2 separate regions of the Homo sapiens genome follow, and region 2 is linked to region 1. The links are contacts of gene promoters, found by promoter capture Hi-C in human tissues and cell types (Jung and others, 2019). All regions are on one chromosome and are shown on one strand. Each heading gives the region's core, a stretch centred on a gene start or on the middle of the fragment in contact. The rest is flanking DNA. Distances are from core to core; before and after follow the strand shown. Region 1 holds the start of DDIT4L (DNA damage inducible transcript 4 like). Region 2 has its middle 120 kb from the start of LINC01218.

The links. The method cuts DNA at HindIII sites, captures the fragments that hold promoters and counts their contacts. A contact is called where the count stands out against the background at its distance.
Region 2: a contact is called between a fragment that was not itself captured here and the fragment with the promoter of DDIT4L in region 1, in 1 of the 25 tissues and cell types used here (hippocampus).

What each region holds. Positions count from the first base shown.
Region 1 is chr4:100,187,249-100,194,454 of GRCh38, forward strand. DDIT4L (DNA damage inducible transcript 4 like) reads right to left here and starts at 3,220. Exons shown (of 3, transcript NM_145244.4): 1 at 3,055-3,220; 2 at 2,645-2,784; 3 at 1-919. The coding sequence starts at 2,735. The coding sequence ends at 429. DDIT4L-AS1 (DDIT4L antisense RNA 1) reads left to right here and starts at 2,785. Exons shown (of 5, transcript NR_125924.1): 1 at 2,785-2,826; 2 at 5,718-5,801; 3 at 6,498-6,594; 4 at 6,675-6,751. The HindIII fragment of the contact is 5,141 bases long and covers 677-5,817 here.
Region 2 is chr4:100,998,424-101,004,735 of GRCh38, forward strand. No RefSeq gene overlaps it. Among named protein-coding and RNA genes, the nearest start is that of LINC01218, 120 kb to the left of the region's middle. The HindIII fragment of the contact is 3,006 bases long and covers 2,459-5,464 here.

The DNA of each region.
Region 1 (7,206 bases), core at 1,970-4,469:
TATCATTTAGTATGATTCTGTGATTTAAAAAATCCTCTGAAAACTTACAGAAAAAAAAGCCATATGAAAATCAAAATAGGCAAATCTGGTTTATATAGTCTATTACCAAGCCTACCTGAAACCAAATTGTGGAATCAAATGTAAAACTCAAATGGGCTTCTACTTTTGCTTACCTATTCCATCCCATTCAATTCTGTACAAAAATGGGATCTATGCAGAAAATCTACACTATTTTGAATCACTTCTCCAAAGGCCAGAAAATCAGCCTGTTAGCTGCAGTTGCTATGAATGTGAAACACAGAAAGAAAAGAGACTACATTTGGGGTTTCTTATTTAGGGCAGGTGGGGCAAACTACAAATGACTTTAGCTGACTAGCTGAATAGTTTTACTACCCAATCATGAAATAATCTTTATATATTTTCCCTTTTTAGGACCCTTCAATCACTGTTGTTCCAATCAGTGAGTAAAGTTTTTTCTTAACAAGTCGAAATCCTGAGCTGAGGATCAGAGTTCTCCTGAAACCAGAGGAGAAGCGACCTCTACTAAAGAAAAAGTCCCTGAAGCTAGTCCATGAGCAGTTCTCCTGCTTAAACACAAGTGTAAGCTCAAAAGTAGGTACGACGCTAGAATCACACACAATCCTATCCAGCTTTTTACATACATTTTCAATTTCCAAGTTCACGTGCATAACACAACCTCGCAAGCCGCAGGGCTCCGTTGAGGAAAGCCGCAGGACATCTTGAGCAATTCTCTGGGTCAGTTTCTCAGGGACAAGGACCTTTGAGCAACCAAGTTTAGTTTGCTTTGATTTGGACAGACAGTTCTCCAGCATTTTAACCAAATTCTGGCAAGTTGATTCCTCAAATATTACCTCGTTGAGGTTGGGTTCAGGAACAACATAATCCCAGTAGTCAAAATCTGTAAGAAATGGAGTTTTCTTTTTAGATACAGAAGAAAAAATTTAAGAGTAGAAAAAAAACACCAAGATATCAACATTGGTTACCTCTATCTACCATGTCTGCCTTTTTCTTGTATTTGTTTCAGAGTCAGCTGACCTCAATTAACTGTTAACTAGCTAGGTAATATAGCGAATAATTTAAGCTCTCATGAATGAAAGTTCATGTATGAAATAAAGGTTTAGATAAATAGAGTAGATAGGATGTAACCACTTTTCTTTAAATTTATGTGTGTACACAAAACACACACACAACCGTGAAGACTATGCATCAAAAATCTACTTGTGATTATCCCAGATTATTGGTGATTTTCTTTTCTTTTCTCCTACTTGCTTATGGGGGTTTTCTAATTTTGTTTTACAGAAAACATGCATTACTTCTGGAATAAAAAGTTATAACTTTGTTTTTTGGACTAAGGGGTTGTTACTTTCTAACTGTAGGAATACATGTATTGTAAAATAAAGAATTTTTACTATTATGTTTGAAGAGTTGTATTAAAGCTTTAAGAGTTATATTAAAGATCTATCAAATTTGTGTCTTTAAGTCTTTACTGGAGTGGCCTGTAGGTCCCAATTTTAGCTTTAGCCTCTTTAATTAAAAATTGTGCAGAGAAGACCTTTGAGGTTCATGAGGATATTTGTAACCGGCTGGGTGGTTTTTCTTAGCCAAGCAAAACAAAATAGTCCTAGGGAAATAAAATTAGCTGGGCTCAAAGGAAAAGAGATAGCTCTGCATTTGGTCACCTACACCTCAAATTAATCCTACCCCTTGGCAGGATGCCACACCACACGGAGTCAAATGAACAAGGTGCAGGCAGATGCCCTCCCAGCTCCTCTCTCTAAGCCTACTCCACCTTCATCAGCCACTGGCTTTTCCTCTCCACTTCGTGTAAGTTTGGAGTTCTGGCCTGTAAATTAGGTCATCAACCACTTCACCTTGAAAGGAGAAAAACACGAAGAGCTTAAGCAGTTTATCTATGCTCTTACAGCTCTTTAGTGTCAGAGCAGTGTGTTCACCTAGAAACTGCTGTTAAAATTCCAAATGACAGCAAGTCAAGCACCGCTGCTGTTCAACAGTTTCCTTCTCACATTAAAAATGGAATAATGGATATATCCACGACTGAAAATCCTACTCAGTAATAAACAATAAACACGAACACACTGATTTAAGCAACGGACATAAAAGAATCTCAAAAACATTAGGCTGCGGGAAAGAAACCAGACACAAAAGAATACCTACTGTATGGTTCCACTTACCTAAAGGCAAAACTAACTTGGAATGATAAAAATCAGATCAGTAGTTCCCTGGAGTCAGGGGAGAGTGAGGAATACCTGGCAAATAGGTGCGTCGGAATTCAGGGGGAGGGGCGATATTGATTACAGGGTAAATACATTTGCTAAAACACACATAACTGTGTTCTTCACAATCATGTAAGATAAGGAACTTAATCCCAAGGGGCCTACTGGCACCAGACTAGAAAGATGCAGCCCTCGGGTATTCTACTTTTGCTACTTTTGTTTCTATCATGGAGAGAAGATGTTAGAAAATTTGGAAAGGAGTCTCCTCAGATGGATTTTGTGGCACCTCCTACATAGAGGTAGGGGAGGAAGTCGAAAGCCCGCCCACCCAATAGATCCAGAGGCACCGACCTTGGGAGGGGAGAAGGGTGGACAGCGGGGACACTCACCACTTAGCAGGCTCTCTGGGTGATAGCCACAGTCCAGCAATTCTGAAATGCTGGCCGGGTTCTTGCTGCTCAAACTGCCAGTTGCAACCATGGTCAACGGCTCTGTTTCCTTCGCGAGGCGCAACGGCCTTTCCTGAGCGCTGGAAAAAATGAGGCGAGAAGAGACGGATTTGCAAAAGCAGGCGAGTCGTGCAGAGGCTCCTAAAATGCCCGGCGTCCCGGGAGCGAACTAGCGGAGGAACTCCTTTGCCAAAGGGGTGGAACCGGCCTCTGCAACTCAATTTGACAAAGCCCTGGGAGCGGAGCCGCAACCTGAAACTAACTCAACAGTTCGCAAAACTTGGAAGCGACCTGCCCCGCGGAGCGCCCCCCGGCCCCGCTGCCCCCACCAAGGCCGCAGCTTCGCTCACCTGCCAGGAGTTCGCGGGGGCCTGCGCGCTCGCTGCCGGGTAAACACAGGCAGGTGGCTTCTTAGGAGTCCCCTCTCCTGGGGACTCGGTGACCTGCAGACCCCAGCAGCCAGCGGCACCCTGCTCACCCCTCCCGGGCCACCCTGCGCCGGCTCCTCGCAGTAGCATAGCCTCCGGGGCAGCGAGAACTTTATAGGTCCAGTCCCCACCCTGCTCAGGCCCGCCCACCTGCACCGCCCCTCCCCGGCCAGCGCCCCGCCCCTCCCCTCCAGAGTCTGGTCCCCTTTCAACCTCTACACTTCCAGGGAGCCCGAGCCTAGCCACAGGGAGTTGAGGATAAGCCTGTGGTAGAGCGGACACCTGTTGCTTCCAGGGTAGATCTCGGGCCACTGGGACCGCAATTCCGGGTGCACGACTCGTCAAAGCCTGAACCTGATTGTTCAGTGCGACCCCTCCCCGAGCGTCCGCGCTTTCACACTCAGGCTGCTCCCGGCAGCGGGAAGCTTTAAGCGATCTGTGCATTTCCTTGTCCTGGGGCTTTGCTGTGTCATCCTGAACACTTGGCTTAAATCTGTTGCAACGTCCACTGAGCATCATTTATGCACTTATTTCTGGCCTCTAACCCAGTCAACTCTACTCTGCCTCCCAGGGTTTCTGTATCCTCCTCTGCTGCAAGCGGTCAGATCTAGTTTTCCTTTCCCGCATCGAAGGCTCGCCAGCATTTTAAGAAGGGCCTTAATGACCCCACGCACTCCGTGGCTCCCTGGCATTCTTCGTGCACTTACATCTGTGGCTAATGCGTTTTCTTCGCAGGAAGGGTGAGCCTGGCACTCTTCTAATTAGACCTTGCCCCAGAGCGCGGGGAGCTTGAATTGAGCGGGAGTTTGCCAAGAAACACACAATACCATTAGTAGGATCTTAGGTACTCCTCTATCCGTGCATCGAGAGCAACTGTCATTTCCGGAGGCAGAAGTTTCTGGCGAGCCCTGTTGGGAGGATCTTTGGTTTGGGATATTTTGAAGAGGTTTCAGAGACTGAAGATAAAGAGTTTTATATTCTGCTGGGGATCAGCAGATAATCCCTGTGAGGGCTCCGTGCGGTCCTGCACAGGAACACACAGAGAGGCAGAGGAGCCCTGGAAAGAGGCAACATGCCCGCATAGCCCATGAGCAAGAAGCCAAACCTGATTTTTTTCTTCCAAAGTTATTAAGCCACGGTTTTCTCGCTTTGGTGTGCCAGTAGGAGATGATCTGTTCAGAGAGTCAGCTTGGGGTGCGTTAGGGGATGCCTGGAGGGAGAAGGTTGTTCCTACAGTAGAGATCCCAGTGTTGGCTCCCAGGCCCTCTAGGATTATGTGTAGAAGGATTTGCAGGTTAGAACCTTGAAAGGCAGTTTCAGCTGTCCTGGCATAAAACTCTTAGAAAAACAACAACAGAAGGGGTATAGAGGGTGTGATAAACAGATCAGTGGGAGGACATTCGGACGCAGAGCAGCAGAAATTAAAGCCAGCTTGACAGTCCATTTTTAACTCAGTTCAGGCAGCTGCACTGCCTGAAGGTCAGGCGAGCCAAGGAAGGAGATGCTGATAGACTGGTCTTTGAAGGCCAGTTTCCACTTCTACTTCAATAAACAGAAAAGTGGAAAATAAACAAGCCCATTTAAGCCAATTAAAAAGCGGTTTCAGTGGCTAGGGTGTTCAGGACCAATGGATGGGCCCATGGTCAGGAGTTGGATGCCAGCCGCCTGACAGTCAGTCCCTGGGCAGGCCACAGAGCCTCTTGTCCTTGTCTGGGCAGCATTACTAATGAGGCTGCCACTTAACCTGCCTCCAAGGAGGATTTTTAGAATTAATATAATGAGTGGTCTGAACCAATACTAGCGAAATAAAGAAATTACTCGTTTCAATTTCCTTAGGGTATTTAGGCATAATTCATAGAGTAAATGCCCCCATAGGGCCAGAAAGATTATTGGAACTTACAGAAAGTAGTAGTTGCTCTTGGCCCACCTGACTAAATGAAATTTTGCAAAGCCCTTTGGGATTTGACTTCAGAAAACAATTTACTTATGTACAAAAGACTTCAAATAATATCTTCTTGGCTGAATGGGCCTTGCTCTCAGGACATACAGGGCATAAGGAATGATTGAGGTAAAACACATACCTGGAATAATTAAGAATGTCCTTTTTTATCTACTTAAAAGCGTAGAAAATCCATTCTATCACCAGTTTGCATCTTCACAAGGTTAAACAGAACTGATTTTTTAAAAATTTGAAGCATAGAGAAGAATTAGGAAAAACTAAGTGCCATTATAGGCTAAGTGCAAGGTGACACAGTCTATCAGATTTCAGAAAAATGTGGATACAGTCAATTATTTATAACTGAAAGTTCGCATTGGGGAACTTCAGGTGTTTATTAAGTGCAGTGATAAAGAAGTTTGTTTTATTGCTCTTTCATTATATCCTCTAACTAATACTATATAAACAGTTTGTGGGAGTGCTTACTGGAAATAGTTGTGTATGAATAGAAAATCTAGTCAGTTAAATAATTTGATTTCCTTTCATACACCAATGTATTATAAGAAACTATCTAAATCATAGGCAAAGGCTTTAACTTAAGCATGCTTGCTTTTTTATTACTATAATTCACTAATCCATCTTCTTACAGAAAGAAAATGAGATAGCAGTAACAACTGGCAACCATATGTTCATCTGATGTATTTGCAAATATTTAAGTTCTAGGCTTCCTCAGGTATAAATATAGTATTCATAATGTCATTGCTTATGTAAAGTATAAATTCACAATGCCAGGGATACTGAAAAAACAAAAAGCAAAAATGATGCTTTCATGTATTATTACAGGAAATGTTGGTGTCTTTTGCATTTGTGATTTGGAGTGTTGAATGTTCATTACGTGTTTCACTAGCCAATTTTCTGTCTTTATTTGGTATGAACACTTATTTTTGAATCTTATTAATACATTTACGTTCCACACATAGCTTATTTTATTTCATAAACTATGACACCTGAGGGAAAGTTACTGAGTTTCTTAATCTGTGCAATTCAGGGAAAACTTACAGGACATGGAAATTGATCTATACATTAGCAGTAAGCTCATGGGGTTATTGTAAGGATTAAAAGAGAAACCCTTAAAATCAATGCTAAATATTATCTCTTTTTTATAAACAAATATGAGATCTTTAAATGCACACTGCCTCTAGATTCCCTTAGTTGTGCTAAGTTTGTAAATTTGGTGTCTCATGCAAAGTGCTTAGAACCAAACTAATACTGATATTAGGCAAGAACTTAATGAGTGATATTATTATTATTGCTGTTATTATGTTCTGAAATTGTAGTTATCTGGGTCAGTGCAACAAGCAAGTGGCTAAATGGAGTTGGGGAAGTGTTGTTAAAGTATAAGAAAATTTATGATCTTTCCTGTTTGCAGGAAATCTGGAAAGTATTGGCACTGATTAGGAAAGCCTTTTTTATTATAATACATCCATCACTGTATGGGAAAGCAGGAAAGGATCTGCCAATGAAACGTAAGAAAATAATGTGGGTAAAAAATTATCTTGGTGTAAAATACAGAGTTTTATATGTTAACTTTCCTCTATTAATCTAGGAAATAGTTTTCTGGAAATAAATAACATCTACAGACAATTGAAACTATTGACTATAGAATGACGCAGTTGTTTCAAGGTATGTGTGATCATCTGTTAACATACTCGGTGAGATATTTAATCATAATTTTTATTTGCCTTTGAGGGTGCATCACCCAATACAATTTCCATTTAATTATTAAATATTCAATATGACTTATTCTGTTAAGTAAGGTAACATGGAAACTTATCTCGTATAAGACAAAAAGCAGGCCCAATACATAAAATAATACATAATGCTTGCTATTAAAAGCTGAGAGAATCTTCCAATAACACAAGGGTTTGCCTCTCTTTTTAAGCAGAGAAATGGTTACCATAGCAACTTGTCTCTTAATATAGTTATATGATTTTGTTCTCTTCATAAACAATGCTGTGTATTATCAGTCTTTAAATAGAGATAATATGTTTAAATGCATACAATATCTGCTTTTCCTTAATTATGGAAAAATGTATAATTCAGGTGACCATATCAGAGGATGTCAGCCAGGAACATGG
Region 2 (6,312 bases), core at 2,712-5,211, 810 kb after region 1:
CATACGACAGAAATTCCACTTTTAAAAGAAGGAAATTCTGTCATTTGTAAAAACATGGATAAGCTTGGTGGACATTATTTTAACTGAGATAAGCCAGACAAAAGAAGACACATACTGCATGATCTCACTTATATGTGGAACCTTAAAAGTTGAACTAATGGAAGTAGAGAGAATTGTAGTAACTAGAGCTGGGATGTGGGTGGAGAGTTGGTGATATGTTGATTAAAGGACAGAAAATTTTAGTTGAATAGGGAGAGTGTGTTTAAGACATCAATTGTACAGCATGGTGACTGTAGTTAACAACAATGTATTGTATTTTGAAAATCACTGACAGAAGTTTCTCACCACAAAAAAATGATATGTAAGGTAATGTATCTGTTAACTAGCTTTATTAAGCCATTTCAAAATGTATACATATTTCAAAACAGTACATGATAAATATAAACCATTTTGTCAATTAAAGAATAAAAATAACATAAAAATAAATTATGGTTTTGGTTTCTTATTGAATTTTGAGAGTTATATATTTTTGTACTTTTTATTATTATTATTAATATTATTAGAGATGAGGCCTTGCTCTGTCACCGAGGATATAGGGTGCAATCATAGTGCACAGCATCCTGAAACTCCTGGGCTCAAGCAATTCTCCTTCATTAGCCTCCCACCATGTTCAACTGGTTTTATTATTTTTATTTGACATATAATTACTGTATGCATTTATGGAGTACAGTATGATATTCTGACACATATGCACAATATGTAATAATTCAGGGTAATTTGCACTGGGTACATTCAAAATCCATGATCATTACTATTTGAAAATAAAAATAAATTATTGTTAATTATAGTCATCCAATGGTGTTATGGTATACTGGAACTTATTCCTTCCACCTTGCTGTAATTTTGTATTCCTTTACTTACCTGTTGCTATCTGCTCCCCCTTCCAAGCCTCTAATAATAACTATTCTACTCCCTCTTCATGAAATCAACTTCTTTAGCCTCCATATATGAGCGAAAACATCCAATATTTGTCTTTTTGTGCCTGACTTATTTCACTTAACATAATGTCCTCCAATCTCATCCACATTGCCACAAATTTAAAAATTTTATTCATTATTATGGCTGAATGGTATTTTACTGTGTATATATACCACATATTTAAATCCATTTATCTGTTGATGAACATGTAGATTGAGTCCATATTTTGGCTATTGTGAATAGTGTTGCAATAAACATAGAAGTGTAGATTTATTTCTGACATACTGATTTTATTTCCTTTGGATATATACCTAATAGTAGGATTGTTGTATTATATAGTAATTTTATTTTTAGTTTTCTGTGGAACCTCCCTAATGTTATCCATAATGGCTATACTAATTTACATTTCCACCAACAGTGTGTGAGAATTCTCCTTTCTCTGCATCCCCACCAGTGCCTGTTATATTTTATTTTTCTGATAATAGCCATTCCAACTGGGGTGATGTGATATTTCATTGTGGTCTTGATTTGCATTTCCCTGGTAATTAGTAATGTTGATCATTTTGTCATATACATGCTGGTCATTTGTATGTCTTCTTTTGAGAGGTGTCTATTCAGCTTATTTGCTCATGTTTTAATCAAATTATTTGTTTTTTGCTTTTGAGTTGTTTGAGTTCCTTGTATATTTTGGATATTAATCCCTTGTAAGCTGAATAGTTAGTATATATTTTCTCCCATTTGGCTGCCTGTCTCTTCACTCTTGATTGTTTCCTGTACAGTGCAGAAGCTTTTTAGTTTGATATTATTCCACTTGCTTATTTCTGCTTTTGTTGCCTGTGCTTCTGATATTTTCTTCATAAAATCTTTGCCCAGACCAGTGTCCAAAAATATTTCACCTATGTTTTCTTCTAGTAGTTTCATAGTTTGGGGTCTTATATTTAAATCTTTAAGAAATTTCAAGTTGAATACATTTTGAGTTGAATTTTGTATGTGGTGAGAGATAAGGATCTAGTTTCATTCTTCTGCAAGAGAATATCCAGTTTTCCGAACATCATTTATTGAAGAGCCTGTTCTTTCTTTATTGTGTGTTCTTGGCACCTTTGTCAAAAAAATCAATTGACCATAAATGTGTGAGTTTACTTCTGTGTTCTTTATTCTGTTCCATTTTTTCTATATGTCTACTTTTATGCCACTCATGCTGTTTTTGTTACTATGGCTTTGTAGTATATTTTGAAGTCAGGCAGTATGATGACTACAGCTTTGTACTTTTTGCTCAAGATTGTTTTGGCTGTTCATAATCTTTTGTGGTTTCATATGAATTTGAGGACTGTTTTTTCTATGTCTGTGAAGAATGTCATTGGTATTTTAGTAGAAATTGCCTTAAATCTGTTGATTTCATTTGGTAGTATGACCATTATTACAATATTAATTCTTCCTATCCATGAGCATGGGATGCTTTTTTATTTTTTGCACGTGTACTCTTTAACTTCTTTCATTAGTGTTACAGTTTTTATTATTGATATCTTCCACTTCCTTGGTTAAATGTATTCTTTGGTATTTTATACTTTTTGTATAAAATTTACTTTTAAATTTTACTGCTTTCTTGATTTCTTTTTCTAACAGCTTCTTGTTAGTACATGGAAATCCTGCTAACTTTTTATATATTCATTTTGTATCTGGCAATTTTACTGATTTTTTTTTTTTTTTTAGAAGGAGTTTCACTCTTGTTGCCCAGGCTGGGGTGCAATGGCACAATCTCAGCTCACTGCAATCTCTGCCTCCCAGGTTCAAGAGATTCTTCTGTCTCAGCCTCCTGAATAGCTGGGATTACAGGCATGAACCACCACACCTGGCTAATTTTGTCTTTTTAGTAGAGACAGGATTTCACCATGTTGGTCAGGCTAGTCTCGAACTCCTGACCTCAGGTGATCTGCCCACCTCGGCCTCCCAAATTTTTAAATCAGTTCTGAAAGTTTTTGGTGGAGGTTTCAGGGTTTTTTATATATAACATACTGCTATCTGCAAACAGGAACAATTTAACTTCTTTCTTTTCAATTTGGATGCCCTTTATTTCCTTTTTATCCTAATTGCTCTGGATAGAACTTTCAGTACTAGGTTGAATAAGTGTGGAGAAAACTGACATCTTTGTCTTGTTCCAGTTATTAGAGAAAAAGCTTTCAGCATTTCCCATTCAGAATGATATTAGCTGTTTGTCATATATGGCCTTTATTATGTTGAGTTATGTTCCTTTTATATCTAGTTTGTTGAGAGTTTTTATCATAAGATAATTTTGAATTTTATAAAATACCTTTTTACATGTGTTGATATGATTGTATTTTTTTGGCCTTCATTCTGTTCATGTATTGAACCATCCTTACACCCTTGGGAAAGATTCCGCTTGATCACGGTGAAAGACTCCTTTGTTATTATGAAATAATTTTATTATCCCTGGAAGTATTCTTTGCTCTCAAATATGCTTTGTCTTATAGTAACATACTTCTCCAGAACTCATTTGATGTTTGTTCGCATGGTATATATTTCAGGTTTTTTTTCTTTCTTTCTTTCTTTTTTTTTTTTTTTGACATAAGGTCTTACTCTAATGCCCAGACTGAAGTACAGTGGCACAATCAGAGCTCACTGCAGCCTCCTGCCTCTAGGACTAGAGGCATGCATCACTGGGTATGGCTAATAAGGTTTAATTTTTTGTAGAGACAGGGCCTGATTATATTGTTCAGGCTGGTCTTGAACTCCTGGCCTCAAGCAATCTTCCCATTTCCCAATGTGTTGGTATTACAGGCATGAGCCACTGCACCCAGCCTTTTGCCATCCTTTTAATTAATTGTGTCTTTGTATTTGAAGCATGTTACTTGTAGTCAGCTTATAATTGGGTCTTACTTTTTAAACTTTAACTTTTAGTTGGTATTTAGACCATTTATATTTAATATGATTAAATTGCTAGACTTGAATCTCTCATCTTACCATGGGCTTTCCGTTTTTCCATTTGTTTATGTTCTCCTATTTCTCTTTTTCTGCTTTAATTGAATAAAATTAATGATTAAATCTTTCTGACTCTATTTTATCTCATTTGTTGGCCTATTAGGTACAACTCTCTATTTTGTTATTTTATCAGTTGCTCTAGGGTTTATACTGTTCGTTTTTATGGTAATCCATTCTCCTTTCAAGTGACATTAAAACACCCTCTGCATGGTATAAGAATTTTGCCATCTATTTTAATTGCTTCCCTCCTGAGCTTTGTGCTATTTTTGCATTACAATTTAGATATATTTTAATCTCCAACTTTGTTGTTGTTGTTTAAACAGTCTATAGTCTCATGAAGACATTTCAATAATTAGAAAAAAAAACCCTGTGTATTTACTCTTGCAGTTACTTTGTGAGACAATTCTTAATGTGTTTGACAAGTTTTTGGAGATCTTGTGAGCAAAGACACTGACAGCTTTTGTTTCAGGTTTTATTTCCTGGGATATTTGTGTAGTGAATAGCCTAGAATGATTAAGATAGTGTCTACTTCTGGGACAGAGGACAAAAGATTTTGTTGTCTCTTATGCTGAAGATGATGCCTTCCATTCTGGCAAAGTTTAGACAGATTTGCTTACATTTCATTATATATAGAAATGTGCATTTTACTATATTCAGGGTCTTTTAGTTGTGACACAAGGATCAATGTATATAATCCATCTAGGTCAGCTTACTTCACCCCATGGGACATGGGAGGTAAAAAGACTCAGCATGAACATGAAGCTCATACTGTTTGCTGTGTTATGACTTATAAAATTATTTGTCTCTGATCTAGGAACTCTGAATCTTCTGCCAGCACTCATGAAACTGTGGAAGGTTAACTTCTTAACTTGCAGGCAGGGTAAAATCTCAGACCATCCACAATTTCTTATAATTACTGTTTCTGGGGCTCTTTCATTATGTTGATCCAGATTTTCCTCTGACATCATTTTCCTTCTGCCTGAAGGACTTCCTTTAGAATTTCTTGTAGTGTGTGGGACTACATGTAATAAGTTCTTTCAGCTTTTGTATGTTAGAAAATGTATTAATTTTGCCTTTATTTCTTATAGAAATATTTCCTGAATGTAGGATTTTAGGTGGTCTTCTTTTTTTAAATTTCAGTCCTTTAAAATGTTCTTCCACTGTCTCCTTACCTATATTGTTTCCTACAGGAAATGTTCTGTTATCATCTTTGTTCTATGCATGATGTGTCTTTTTCTTTGGCCTCTTTCCAGATTTTCTCTTTATCATTAGTTTGGAGAAATTTAGTTTTGTGTTTTGGTGTAGTTTACTTTATGATTTTATGCTTGGGGCTAAGCTTCTTTCATATATAAATTTATAATTTTCATCAAATTTAGAAGTGTTTAAACCATTATTTCCTCAAAGATTTTTACTGTCCTCCACTCTTCATTTTTCTTTGTAGACTCTATATATATTGAGGCTCTTGAATTATCCCATCACTCACAGATTTGTTTTTATGTTTTTCTTTAAATTATTTCCTTTTGGGTAATTTCTATTATTATGATTTCAAGATAGCTAATCTTTTCTTCTGTAATGTGCAATTTTTTATTAATCTCATTTAATGTATTTTTTCATCTCACCATTGTAATTTCCATTTCTAAAGCTTTGAATTGAGGTTCTTTTATTTTTATATTTTTATTTACATGTTTCATACCACTATTTAACTTTCAATTATCTGAAATCAGACCAGGACTAAAATGAAGGATGAGACATATCATCTAGGTTCCAAAATTTAAGAAGGCACTCACTCTCAGGGATGCCCAAGTGCTAATTTTGCTCTGTTTGCAATACAGATTGAATAACACTTTTAATGTCCATATCTGCCAGTTTTTACATCTGTGTGAGTTATGGGTCCATTTCAGTTAATTGATTGATTGATTTTTCTCTTTGTAGGTCATATTTTCCTCCATTTTCATAATGCTTGATAATTCCTATTGAATGCCAGACTTTGTGAATTTTACCTATTTAGGTAGTGGATAATTTTATACTTCCATAAATATTCTTAAACTTTGTTTTAGAATGCAGTTAATTTCCTTGGAAGCAGTATTATCCTTTCAGGTTTTACTTTTGAGATGGGGTACAGGGGACTGGAGCAGGGCTAAGATGTGAGCCAATTATTTGCCACTCCTGAGGCAAGGCCATTTGATATGGTTTGGGTCTGTGTCACCACCCAAATACCATGTTGAATTGTAATATCCAGTGCTGGGGGAGGGACATGTTGAGAGGTGATTGGATCATGGGGACGATTTCCCCCTTGCTGTTCTCATGATAGTGAGTGAGTTATCAGGAAATCTGATG